2 separate regions of the Homo sapiens genome follow, and region 1 is linked to region 2. Evidence: promoter capture Hi-C in human tissues and cell types (Jung and others, 2019). All regions are on one chromosome and are shown on one strand. Each heading gives the region's core, a stretch centred on a gene start or on the middle of the fragment in contact. The rest is flanking DNA. Distances are from core to core; before and after follow the strand shown. Region 1 overlaps YPEL5 (yippee like 5). Region 2 holds the start of LCLAT1 (lysocardiolipin acyltransferase 1).

Evidence for each region. Contacts are between HindIII fragments. The study calls those that stand out against the background at their distance.
Region 1: a fragment that was not itself captured here is called in contact with the fragment with the promoter of LCLAT1 in region 2 in 1 of the 25 tissues and cell types used here (thymus).

The regions. Positions count from the first base shown.
Region 1 is chr2:30,157,325-30,163,633 of GRCh38, forward strand. It overlaps YPEL5 (yippee like 5), which reads left to right. Exons shown (of 3, transcript NM_016061.3): 3 at 1,295-3,209. The coding sequence ends at 1,519. Among named protein-coding and RNA genes, the nearest start is that of YPEL5, 13 kb to the left of the region's middle. The HindIII fragment of the contact is 3,341 bases long and covers 1,104-4,444 here.
Region 2 is chr2:30,444,716-30,450,453 of GRCh38, forward strand. LCLAT1 (lysocardiolipin acyltransferase 1) reads left to right here and starts at 2,531. Exons shown (of 6, transcript NM_001002257.3): 1 at 2,531-2,668. RefSeq lists enhancers at 2,221-2,958, 2,262-2,331, 2,372-2,431, 2,642-2,761, 2,959-3,695. The HindIII fragment of the contact is 9,254 bases long and covers 1-5,738 here.

The DNA.
Region 1 (6,309 bases), core at 1,524-4,023, 290 kb before region 2:
CAGGAAATGTTCAGTGTAAGAATTTGGTAGCAACTTCAGCACAGACTATGGAAGGAACAGGTCAAGATACCCACCTCCCTTTCTCCACATGTCACTGGTTTATCCATATAGGGAGATGGTGGCGTTAAACTATTATAACTTGACAGCGAATAACGATCATCTAACCAACTTTTCATGCTCTAATTCATGCTCACCAATCATCCTTCCATGGATTTGCTGACAGGAAGAGTGTTTTTCTGATTTGCAAGTGTGTGCCCAGTCTGCCTGTCTCTCTAATTTCTGGCTTGCTTTCAAATTGGATGCCGTGATTCTGCCTCCCGGAATCTGGTATATAATAGAAAAGTTGAATTTCCAAGTATTTTAGGCTAAGGAACATAGCTAGTCTAGGGTACTGTTCTTAGAAGATCAGATGAACTTCCCCAGTGGGCACTCCTCTGTTCCATGTAGAAGCAGCTTTTCTCAGAATTGATGGCTCATACTCTTTGACATTTATTTTGGTACAGAGGAGGGCACACTGCAGCAGGACAGCTGCCTGTTTTGGTAAATGTAATGGAACACAGCTCTGCTTGTGCATTACGTATTGTCTACAGCTTCTTTCATGCTACAGTGCCAGAGTTAAAAAGTTGCAGCAAAGACCACATAGCCGTCAAAGCCAGAAATATGTACTATCTGGCCCTTTACAGAAAAGGAAAGTGTAGAAGATTGTTGGGTATTCAGAATCAGTGGAAATTCATTACACATTGTCTCAGACCCACTTCATTGTGTTCATTGTCTTTGAATTCACTTTAAAACTATGTACTGCAGATGTATGGTCTTTAGTAGGCTTAATCTGTCCCAGTCTATATATACAGTATATTTTCAGAAACAAACTGACAGACTGTTTTATGGAATAACTATGGTGCATTAGGTTCTTTTACATGGATTGTATTATTTGCACTCATCATTGAATAATGATGAATTACTACAACTGGACCCAAACCTACATTTTATGGCTCCAATTCCAGGACTTTTTCTTACCTGCAACACAGAAATGTAACTAGTATGTTTAAATAGTGTGACTTAGGCTAGTACGGTAGTGCATGATTGCATTAGATGTCTAGTGTAGTGCAATTTCCAGATGTCTGCCTGCCCCAGCAGCTTCTAATAAATAAGTCTTGCGTATTATAGGTTTGACTAAACTAACAAGTTCTTTCTCCTTTTCTGAAGTTGCTGTTGCATTAACCATAATATTTTGTACATACTTGGCAAATAACTAACATGCCTTGCAATTTTGATTTTCCTTGTCCCTTGTTAGGTAGTTAACCTGCAGTACAGTGAAGTTCAAGATCGGGTCATGCTCACTGGCCGCCACATGGTTCGAGATGTGAGCTGCAAAAACTGCAATAGCAAACTGGGATGGATCTATGAGTTTGCCACTGAAGACAGCCAGCGATATAAGGAAGGCCGCGTGATCCTGGAACGTGCTCTAGTTCGAGAGAGTGAGGGCTTTGAGGAGCATGTACCATCTGATAACTCTTGAAGATACAGAGAGAAATCCATCTTTTCCCAGGTCTCCTTCACTGAAAACAAAAATCTACTTACATACACTGTCACCTTAGCATCAGAGTCGGATTAATGAACTGCGGAACAAGAGGTTGTGAGAATCTAAGATGGAACCTTTCTTTCTTTCTTTCTTTTTTTTTAAATTTTGTATTTTCCATCCAACAGCAGTGTGTAGAGAGAATATTATGCAGATGCCGTTAATTTTTTACCCTATGTTTACATCTTGAGGCAGCAGAGTCTGTCTGCAGCTATGTGGTGAGCTATGTAAGGAAAAAAATCTGGGCTGTTAGAGTGAAAAAGTGTGTTTTATGTCAATTGTGAAAGGAAAATGTTAGGAGTATGGTTTTTAAACTTGGGCTTCATTTTAAACTTTTTTTTTTAAACCCAGTTATTTCACTTGATTTGCTAGCTTCAGAGAAGAGATCCGAATCTGTGCCCAGCGCTAAAGGCTCAGTGTTAGCATGGCTTGTGCTGGCCGGTGTGCCATATTCTTGTTGGAGATGAACCGTAGCACCAGAGCCCATTCTTCCTTGTCAGTCTTGGCCCAAAGATGTCACCATTCCTAGTTATTTGTCACCACATAATTGGTGTTGATTGGAAACTTTTTCTGAGATGGGACAGAACTGCTGGGTTGTCTTTTTCCATGTAACTTAAGCATAGTAATATAAATAAAGTAATAGTTGGATGCTTTTGGTCCTGTGTTGCTTTTAAAAACACCTTATAAAAGAGGAGAGTATTTGATAAGCAATTTTCATAGTAGTAAAGTTTTTTTTCATCTCTTAAACTAAATTGACCATGCATATAATATTCTTTGTTTAAATGAAAGCATACTGTTGAAACCCGCAGTGTTGCATTTAGAAAACAGTTGAACAGAATGTCAATGTGCATTCATGCAAAAAAACATTTAATCTGCATCTGTTTTAGAAAAGGGGGAAATGAAGCAACTTGTCTAAAAATACTGCTTTACAAAGCATTTCAGCCTTTCCCCCTCAGTTTTGCATTGATTTTTTGACAAGTCTGTAGAGCCTAATAGTTTCCATCAAAGGCCTAGATCTCTTATTTAGCATTTTTTTCAGCTCTTCTCTCAGAAGTTCAGCTGTTGAAACGAAAACTGTACTTTGTACCCTCACATACAAAGGGATCAAATTTGACCTGGTGTTATTTTAGCCCCAAATTTATGACATTACACAATATTAAAATGTAAATGTTTCTTTACCCAAACTACTTCTAGATATTCTAGTATTTGCTTCTGGTGGAATTAAATGACGGTAAAATTGGCTAATTATTTGAATGAATGAATGGATGGATGTTTTGCATGCTCAATTTCTAGGTCCTTTGTCTAGAAAGGAAATTTGCCTCAGTTGAATTAGTGAAATATTTCTGTCGTTGATATTAAAAGTGACTTCTGAGTACAGTTAAGTTCCTCCTATTTGCCACTGGGCTGTTGGTTAGAAGCATAGGTAACTGATTAAGTAGGTATGATACTGCATTTGAAATAAGTGGACACAAACTATCCTTTCTCCACCATGGACTCAATCTGAGAACAACAGCATTCATTTCCATTCATTTCCATACTGGCTTTTGATTATATGCAGATTCCTAGTAGCATGCCTTACCTACAGCACTATGTGCATTTGCTGTCACAATAAAGTATATTTTGTCTTGCATTGATGCAGTACTGCTGCTTATTTTCCACTGATCTTGTCTAGTGATCATCTTAATTTTTATCTCTGAACACATACTTGGTATCTTTGAGTACCTGTAGCTTTCTTCATTTGGCAATGATAGTGATGTCTGACTTGATTAACTGCCTAATTCACACATGAAGACATTGACTTTGCCAGTATTAACTTCTCTGAGATCATTTTGCCTTAGATACTGATAACTATAGTTCAGTATATATAAACAAAAAAATTTCATATTACTAGGTTAACTTTTAGGTAACTGGCAGGTACCAGCAGCAAGCTCCTCTGTGCCTTTTAAAAACTTCCATTTGCAAAAAAAAAAAAAATATATATTGGAAGGTCTACTTTGGATTATTTACAGAAAACCATTGTTATTTTGAGATGGGGATACTAATTAATAGGAATGATTTTTGCTTTGGGGTGGGAGAGTTAAACAAGTAGAGGTGAACTTAGAACTAAGTAGGTTACTGAGGAATATACAGATTTAAGCTTTTTTTCCCCTGACCGAAGAGGAAAATTCTTCCTCTTAGTCTTAGGTGACAGTAACCGTAAGTTGTTTTGATCTTAAAGTGCTTTTATTTAGACTCTCAAGTGAACATTCCTGGTAAAAATAATTTTAGTAATTATGTGAAGATTTAAGTTACAGTTAGGAGTTGTTACTTTGGGATTGGAGGAGAAAAATATCAGTACCATCTGTTTCCTAAATTTGCCTACTCATAAAGTCATATAGGATGTTTAAATCAGAGTCTGGGCCCAAGCCCAGGCTTAAGTCAGTCAACAGGTAATTTTTGGTGGGGCAGAATTAAGAAACTACCAGTTGTAAAATATTCAGACATGTTTATGATGATTCATTTCTAAACATCAGTTATAAAAAAATCTCAGTTTAAACAGATATCCACTAATTGTTCATCTGTTTAACACCTGTTTCCTACCAGGAGCCATATAAATTTACTTCTAATCTGTGTGAGTTGGGAATAAAGCAAGATTAAACTGAAGGATTCTTATCAGGCTAGCACGTTGCACTGATAAGATCTATTATAGGAAGAAAGCAGAACTAAGCAGAAATTAGGGTGGATATTCTAAGTTGGGTGTTAATTGTATGGCTTATTTTAAAATATTGGGCTTCTCAAATTGAAATTTCTGTGGTAAAGCATAAAATACACATTCCAAAGCATCGTTCAGGGTTGTATAATCCTAGGCATCACTTTACATATTTAGGTTTTAAAAATCATCTGCAGCATAACCACCTGGGAGGCTTGTTAAACATGTCAATTATGTTCTCATTCCCTTCCCCAGTACTGAATGGGTCTCGGGTGGAGCCAAAAATCCAGTTTTTTTTTTTTTGTTTTTTTGTTTTTTTGTTTTGCCAAACTCCAAAAGTAACATGTTTCTTTGATACTGTGAAATACGTATTTGGTCTCCTGGTCTTCGTCTCCATTTCCTAGCAATACAATCCCTAAAATCCTTGGAATTTTCAAATGATTATCTTTTTGTATGCTAATATTGACTGATAGCCAGGGTAGAGCTGGTCACGGGAAAGATACAGGCATGATTAAAGGTGAGGTGCTTTCAGCCTCACAGAGCAACCTCCCGGGAGGGGAAAGGGGCTGCAGGTCAAGTTGATTACCGATTGCTATCAGACAGGTGGGATTTGCTAGAAGGGCCCTGGCTTAGAAAGGTGGACAAGAAAAATGATGGAAATGTGATGGGTCAGAAACCTTTGATTCCTGGGTGGCCACATGGCCACCCATGGTATAGAGCTGCAGCTGCACTCAGTTACTACCAGTAAAATTTAGAGATAGATCCAACTCGTAGAGAGGTGATTGACTGGATGCATAAGGAAATGCAAGCTAATAAGAAAAGTGAACTCTACAATCCCTTGGTTATTATCTATAATAGCTAAAATGAAACAGAGTGCTGGGTCCAACTTTGATGCTGCACCAAGCTTAGGTTTCAGGCTGAGCTTCAGCCACTAGCCTCAGAGCTACCCACAAGGGCAAAGTTAAGCAGCAACAACAAAATACCTCTCAGATCTGTGGTTACCAAGAAGGTAGTCAATGTCGGGGAAAGGCAAAACCAAGTAACTTGAAACCAGAAGGTATAATGTACAAGGATTTGTTACATTTCATAGATCCATATCATTAGTTTCCTGAGGAACCTTTACTAAAATGGACTATGAGAGTAATTTAGGGGCAGTATCTTTTGTTTTAAATGCTGCAGAATGGAAGAAATGTTTGGGTTGATGGAGGACCCACAGCTCACTATTGAAAGATTGCAGATGGCTAAACATGATCCAGACACATAGGAGGTTATTCTTGAGGAACAGCTAGTCTGGGGGACTGGATTTAAAAAGCCACTGTAAGATCTGTTTACCCTGAGAATGGGGACTGTCCAACTTCCCCTATAAATGCCAAGCAGAACACCCAAGATAAAGCAGCTAATATACTTCATGTGCAAGCCATGTGGGACTGGCTTTATGATGACCCCGATAGTCACCCACCATGTATGCCCATTACCCGTGTCATGGCCAGTGCTATAGTTAAGAGAGCCCCATTTTCATGGGCACCTCATACAACCTTGCTGCTACAAAACATCTGCTAATACATGAGAATCATTATTCAAAGGGTTATTGAAAATACAGTTGTGGTATGTTACCACCTGATAAAAGCCTATGTCACAAGAGGCTGATAGGCTAAGAAGTATGGGTAAGAAAAAAAAAAACAGATTAATATGGCTTTCCATCTGCTTTAAAAAGTGTCTTAAAATGGATTAATACACCAATTAGATAAACTGGCTTTAAGGAGCAGAAGAGTCCCTGGGAAAGAGGCATCTAGTTTCTGGGAAGACTGCTACATGTAAAATATAAAGACATATCTTCGGCCGGGCACAGTGGCTCACGCCTATGATCCCAGCACTTTGGGAGGCCGAGGCGGGCAGATGACAAGGTGAGGAGTTCAAGACCAGCCTGGCCAACATGGTGAAACTCTATCTCTACTAAAAATACAAAAAATTAGCTGTGCGTGGTGGCGAGCACCTGTAATCCCAGCTACTCGGGAGGCTGAGATAGGAGAATCACTTGAAC
Region 2 (5,738 bases), core at 1,281-3,780:
ACCCCAATAATGACAAAAGTACAATAAGAACTAGGACTTGAGATTTCCTGTATGTCATAGTGTGTCCCTGAGCATTACAGAGAGTGCCCTATTAAATGTGACCATTAAGTCAATGGCTCATGAGGTTCAGCAATTCATCAGCTGTGATGCTCTGTTACTGGGGTCAGGAAAGATTGAGAAACTTGTCCCTTTGGGACAGTAGAGCACAGATTAACACCACTTTTTAAGTGTTATATACTACAATGTAATAATAATAGAAATAAAGTGCACAATAAATGTAATGTGGTTGAATCATCCCGAAATCACCCCCTTCACCCTTCACCCCGTTCATGGAAAAACTGTCTTCCACGAAAGCAGTCCCTGGTGCCAAAAAGGTCGGGGACTACTTCTCTGGATGTCTTGATGAAATACATACATTTCAGACGCGGATAAACCCCACAAAAATTCAGGAGCTTGCTACATTGGTGATATTTTAAAATAATTATTTAAAAAACTGGGGGGGTAGTTTTAGACTTAGGAGAGATGTAAAGAGAGTACAGGGATTTTTCCATATATTCTTTACCTAGCTTCCCCTTATGTCAACATCTTGTGTAAGCATAGAACATGTATCAAAACAAAGAATGATCCTGGTACAATAGCATTATGTAAACTATACATCATTTTGGATGCTGAAGTGGTCCAATGATCTTGGGCACGTCAAGACATTTTCCCCAGAATGAAAAACATGTTACTACACCTTGCACCTCTGCCAAAAAGAAAGAAGCATGACACTTAGCAGATCTCTGAGTTTAGAAATCAGCATATTTTGCCCTTGGGAATTCTGTTCCTATCCCTTTAGCAGTTGACGTGGAAGGTGGCTACTGATCAGTAGCTCAGATCAAGAACGGGCTCAGGGCCAGGCGCGGTGGCTCAAGCCTCTAATCCCAGCACTTTGAGAGGCCAAGGTGGGTGGATAGCTTGAGCTCAGGAGTTCGAGACCAGCCTGGCAACATGTTGAAATCCTGTCTCTACAAAAAACACAAAATTAGCTGGGCATGGTGGCAGATGCCTGTAGTTCCAGTTAGTCTGGAGGCTGAGGTGGGAGGATTGCTTGAGTCCAGGAGGCAGGGGTTGTAGTGGGCCACAATCATGCCACTGCACTCCAGCCTAGGTGACAGAGCGAGACCCTGTCTCAAAAAAAAAAAAAAAAAAAAAAAAAGCAAAGAAAAGAAAAAAGAAAGAGCCCAGCACTGTCCTCTGTGGTTAGGGCGGTAAGGGCAACCTTGCCTCTTGGGCTGTATCACCGGACACACCTCACAATGCTAGAGCTCTCTGCAATGGAGCTGCAAAGGCTATGAGGAACCTCCGGCAAGCCCCCAAAGAACCACAGTAGAGCCCTTGAAGGTTCTGGAGCATAGCCAGGCCAACTCTTAACAACAACAAAAAAGAATTGGGAGATCTTTTATTCCAGTAATCTTATTTTAAAGGTAAAAAGGAGGCCTAAAGTCATAGGCATAATTGGCAGAATTGACTTTTGTTCTGGTGTTTCTCTCTGTAGTCATTCTTCACTTTCTGATGCAATTTTAGCACATCTTAAATATTAAAATGTTTTGGAACAAACTTAGAGAAATTATGAAGCTAATTTAGGAAAAGAGCACAAGAATCTTTGATTTACAGGCAATTTGGGGATATAATTTAGCTATATTGAAGCTATGCAGCCAACATGTAGATGGTCATTATTATTACACCATAAATTTTGTGAGGTCAGGAACCTTGTAATTTTAAAAATATTCACTCTGTGCTTTGTTGAATAAACGGATAAAACGTATAGACATACATGAACTACTGATGAGTGGCTGTGTGTGATGTGTAGCTATGTTTATTATTTTTAAGATTCTTATTGTATTTGTTGAAGGCCAAGTTGAGGAGGGAATTGCTTAAGGGAAATGAAAAGGGGTTTAACCACAGTCCCCACCATTCAGGGGCATGCAATCTAGTAGGTTAGGGGACAGGACAGACACACCATGATAGGTGATCGAGACCTTTTAAGAGCAGTGTGATGAAATTGCTATGGGAACTGGGAGGAAACATTTTCTAGGACTGGGGAAACACTGAGTGTGCTAGAAAAACTTTGTGCTCCTGATCAGGGAACCTGGGTTCTATAACTGCTTCTACTACTGATTTGTCCTGTGACTTCGCGCACCAAATTTAGGCTTGTAAATTAAACTCCCAGATTTCTGTTTTCCATTTTGCAGCTCTAGGGGTTGAATGAACCATTAGGTTCCCTCGGACAAATGACCTCCGCTAATTTCCTATTTCGTTGTTTTCTCACCCCTACACCCCACCGTTCCGTGGGTCCCTCCTCTCCAGGAGGCCAGACGAGGAAATAAGCGAGGCCTCTTTAAAGGAGCTCTCAAAGAAAGGTACCCGGGGTATCCCGGGCTGTGGAGCAAGCGCGGGGCGCCGGGGACCCGGGTTTCCCACGCAGCCGGGGACGCCGTTGCGTCACGGCGCCTGCAGCCAATCAGGACGTAGCCTTCCGGGACGCATTACTAGGGCGACGGCCGGACGCCTCCGCGTTACGGGATGAATTAACGGCGGGTTCCGCACGGAGGTTGTGACCCCTACGGAGCCCCAGCTTGCCCACGCACCCCACTCGGCGTCGCGCGGCGTGCCCTGCTTGTCACAGGTGGGAGGCTGGAACTATCAGGTGGGGTTACGGCGCGAGGAAAATGGCGGCGGCCGGGGGATCTCAGAGGTGCAGGAAGGGGAGCTGCAGCCCGGGCTTTTCCTCCTGAGCCATGGACCTTCCCCGGGCCGCGACCTCGGGTAACGGCCACTGGCCTGGCATTTGGGGTCCCGGTGCAGGTGGCGGTAGCGTCGCTGGCTCAGGTGGAAGGAGGCGCGGGGAAGCGACTCCTGGAGGCTGGCTGAGGCGTCAGGTGCTGAGGGGCCGCGCGAGCGGCGAGGGCGAGGTAGCCGCGGGGCGAAGAGGGTCCCGTCGGTGTTTACGCTAGGAGCGTCAAAACCTTCCTCCTGCGACCTCAGCGGGTCTGGGAGCTGCACTGTCCCGGAACGCAACCTGAGGTCTGACCCTGTTAAATCCCATGCACTAAAACGTCTCAAGTGGTCACCACGTGCGGGGCTTCGACGAGAGCCGTGGAGAGCAGGGGCTGGGGTTGTCTTCCCTGCGAGTCCTGCAGGCGCCAAAGGCCTGCCTGTAGGTGCCAGAGTGGCAGTGCCGCGAAAAGAAAGGTAGGCCCTAGCCAGGGCGGATGCCAAACCTGATCTTTAAGGTGTATCGTAGCTTCTAATTGCCCATTTGAAGAAAAGAAGTTGAAAGATAAGGCACTTAGATGTGGTTGTGGAGATGTTTTGCTTTCTTGTACTTCCCTGGTTCAGGTGGCTTCCCTGGAAATACTGCATCTGCCTTTAAAGTTCATTAACTGTGTTTCTTGTGTACATGGCAGTAGATGAGATTAGGGATTGAAGTCACTTTAAGTCCAAGAAAAGTATTGAAGATATGTGTTGAAGGCATTACCAAGATGAAATATTTATTCATATCATTAACTTATTTGTTCAAAGAAACGTCATCTCATGAAGTATAACTACGTGGGTTAGTTTTCAAAAAACTGACTTGATGAAAGCCCTTTTTGTAAAACATATTTTTTGAGAGTAAGTAAAAATACATCATCACTTTTTCGTTTAGGTTTCTGTTGCACATTGTACTTTGATATGCTTGATATGACAGATAAGCATAATGTTAACTGACTTTTGTTTTTGGTAGTAGGCTTGATTTTATGGAGTAGTACCTTGTTCTGTAACTGAGAAAAACGTAATAGCGCTTGTGTTTCAGTCATCAATAGCTGCAATCTCTGGAGTGCCAACTATGTGTCAGTTTCTGTGAAAGCTAGGCTTCTCCTACTTTTTAATTTGAACACATGGTCGTCTGCATCTGCCCCCACCAGGTCTTTAGGCTGGCTGTTGCTGACAACCAGGAGGAAGCAATGGGGAAAACCCAAAAGATTCTTCCAAACTGGATCCATGGAGATTTGGTCAGTTTGTCCTGGGGTTGAGGTTATGGGTGGATTCTAGTCCAAACTCTGCCACTTAAAAATATCTTAGGGTAATCATACAACTTCACTATTGGTGTCTTATCTCTAAAGTGAGTATTTCTTATTCAAACAATCTCATTGCACTGTTGGGAGGAAAAAGAAAAGACAGTATGTGTGAAAGGGCTTTAAAAAGTTAAAAAAACAGTGAAAATATTTGAAATTTATTCCTCTGCATTCATGTACTCTGCCAGGCACTGAATCCGGGGACTTATATGTGCCAACTCAGTCATCTAGCATCACTGTGAGGCGGATACATTTATTATCTTTATTTTGCAGATGAGGAAACTGAAGCACATTGAAGTTTAAGTAATTTGTCCATATCACACAATTAGCATTGTGTTTCCAGCCTGTGTTCTTACTGTCTTACTACCACCATGCCTACTATCTTCCTATGACATACAGATGTGTTATGTATTAAGGGGAAACATTAATTCATGTACAAATTTTTCATTTTTAATATATATATTTTTCTTTTTCAAAGGCTCTAGCAATGTCCTAGAATGAACACATATTTCAAGCCAGTAGTTTTGTTTGTGATCTTGTGTAAATAATAATCATGGTTTATTCCATTGGCGTCCAATAGTGATTTGTGTGGTAACAATTACATTTACTTTGGTTAAGTGGTATATTCTTCTTACTTGTGTTGCCCATTAATTAAAAAGTTATTTTGAAACAGAGTTATGACTAATTTCTTTTTTTTTTTTTTTTGAGAGGGAGGTTCGCTCTTGTTGCCAGGGCTGGAGTGCAATGGCACGATCTCGGCTCACCACAGCCTCTGCCTCCCGGGTTCAAGCGATTCTCCTGCCTCAGCCTCCTGAGTAGCTGGGATTACAGACATGTGCCACTACGCCTGGCTAATTTTGTATTGTTAGTAGAGACGGGGTTTCTCTGTGTTGGTCAGGCTAGTCTTGAGCTCCCGACCTCAGGTGATCCGCCTGCCTCAGCCTCCCAAAGTGTTGGGATTACAGGTGTGAGCCACTGTGCCTGGCTAGTTATGACTAATTTCTATCAGGAAGCACAAATCAATAATTGGGATTTTTGTTTTTATTACATTTTTTAAAAGAATAATTTGCTGGGGGACTTTTAAAAGAAAACTGATTTTAGTTAAGCTTGTTGTTTTGATATACTTGTGCTAATTTTTCCAGTCTTTATTTATTAATAAAATAGGATGAGTAAAAGTGGCTAGGACATTTATTGTTTCATTGAACCTTTATGGAATAGCCCTGCCAAGTCTTTAGGATGTAAACATTAACTCCTGACCCTACCCTTGAGGAGTTCAGGGAGAAGTCCCAGGTCCAGAAGTTTGTAGACAGTTGAGACAAATAAATAAATGATTAACTAATAAAGCATGATAAGGACTCAAATATAATTGTGGGTACAGAGACCTGTGAGAGCACATAAAAGGGAACAGTTACTTCTTCTGGGATGGGCCTGGCCAGAAGAGGAAGGGAGCTAACTGGAGGATAAAGGCGTAGGGAGAAACAGAGCAAAGCTAGGACAAGTGAGAGCTCATGGTGTCCAGGGGTCAGACCACAGTATTACAGGTGTTGCTGGGAGAGAAGCCAGGAAAGGTTAGAGCCAGGTTGTGAACTCTTAGCTAAGAGAGTGGGAACTCTCCTGCGGGCAGTGGGAACTGTAGAAGGA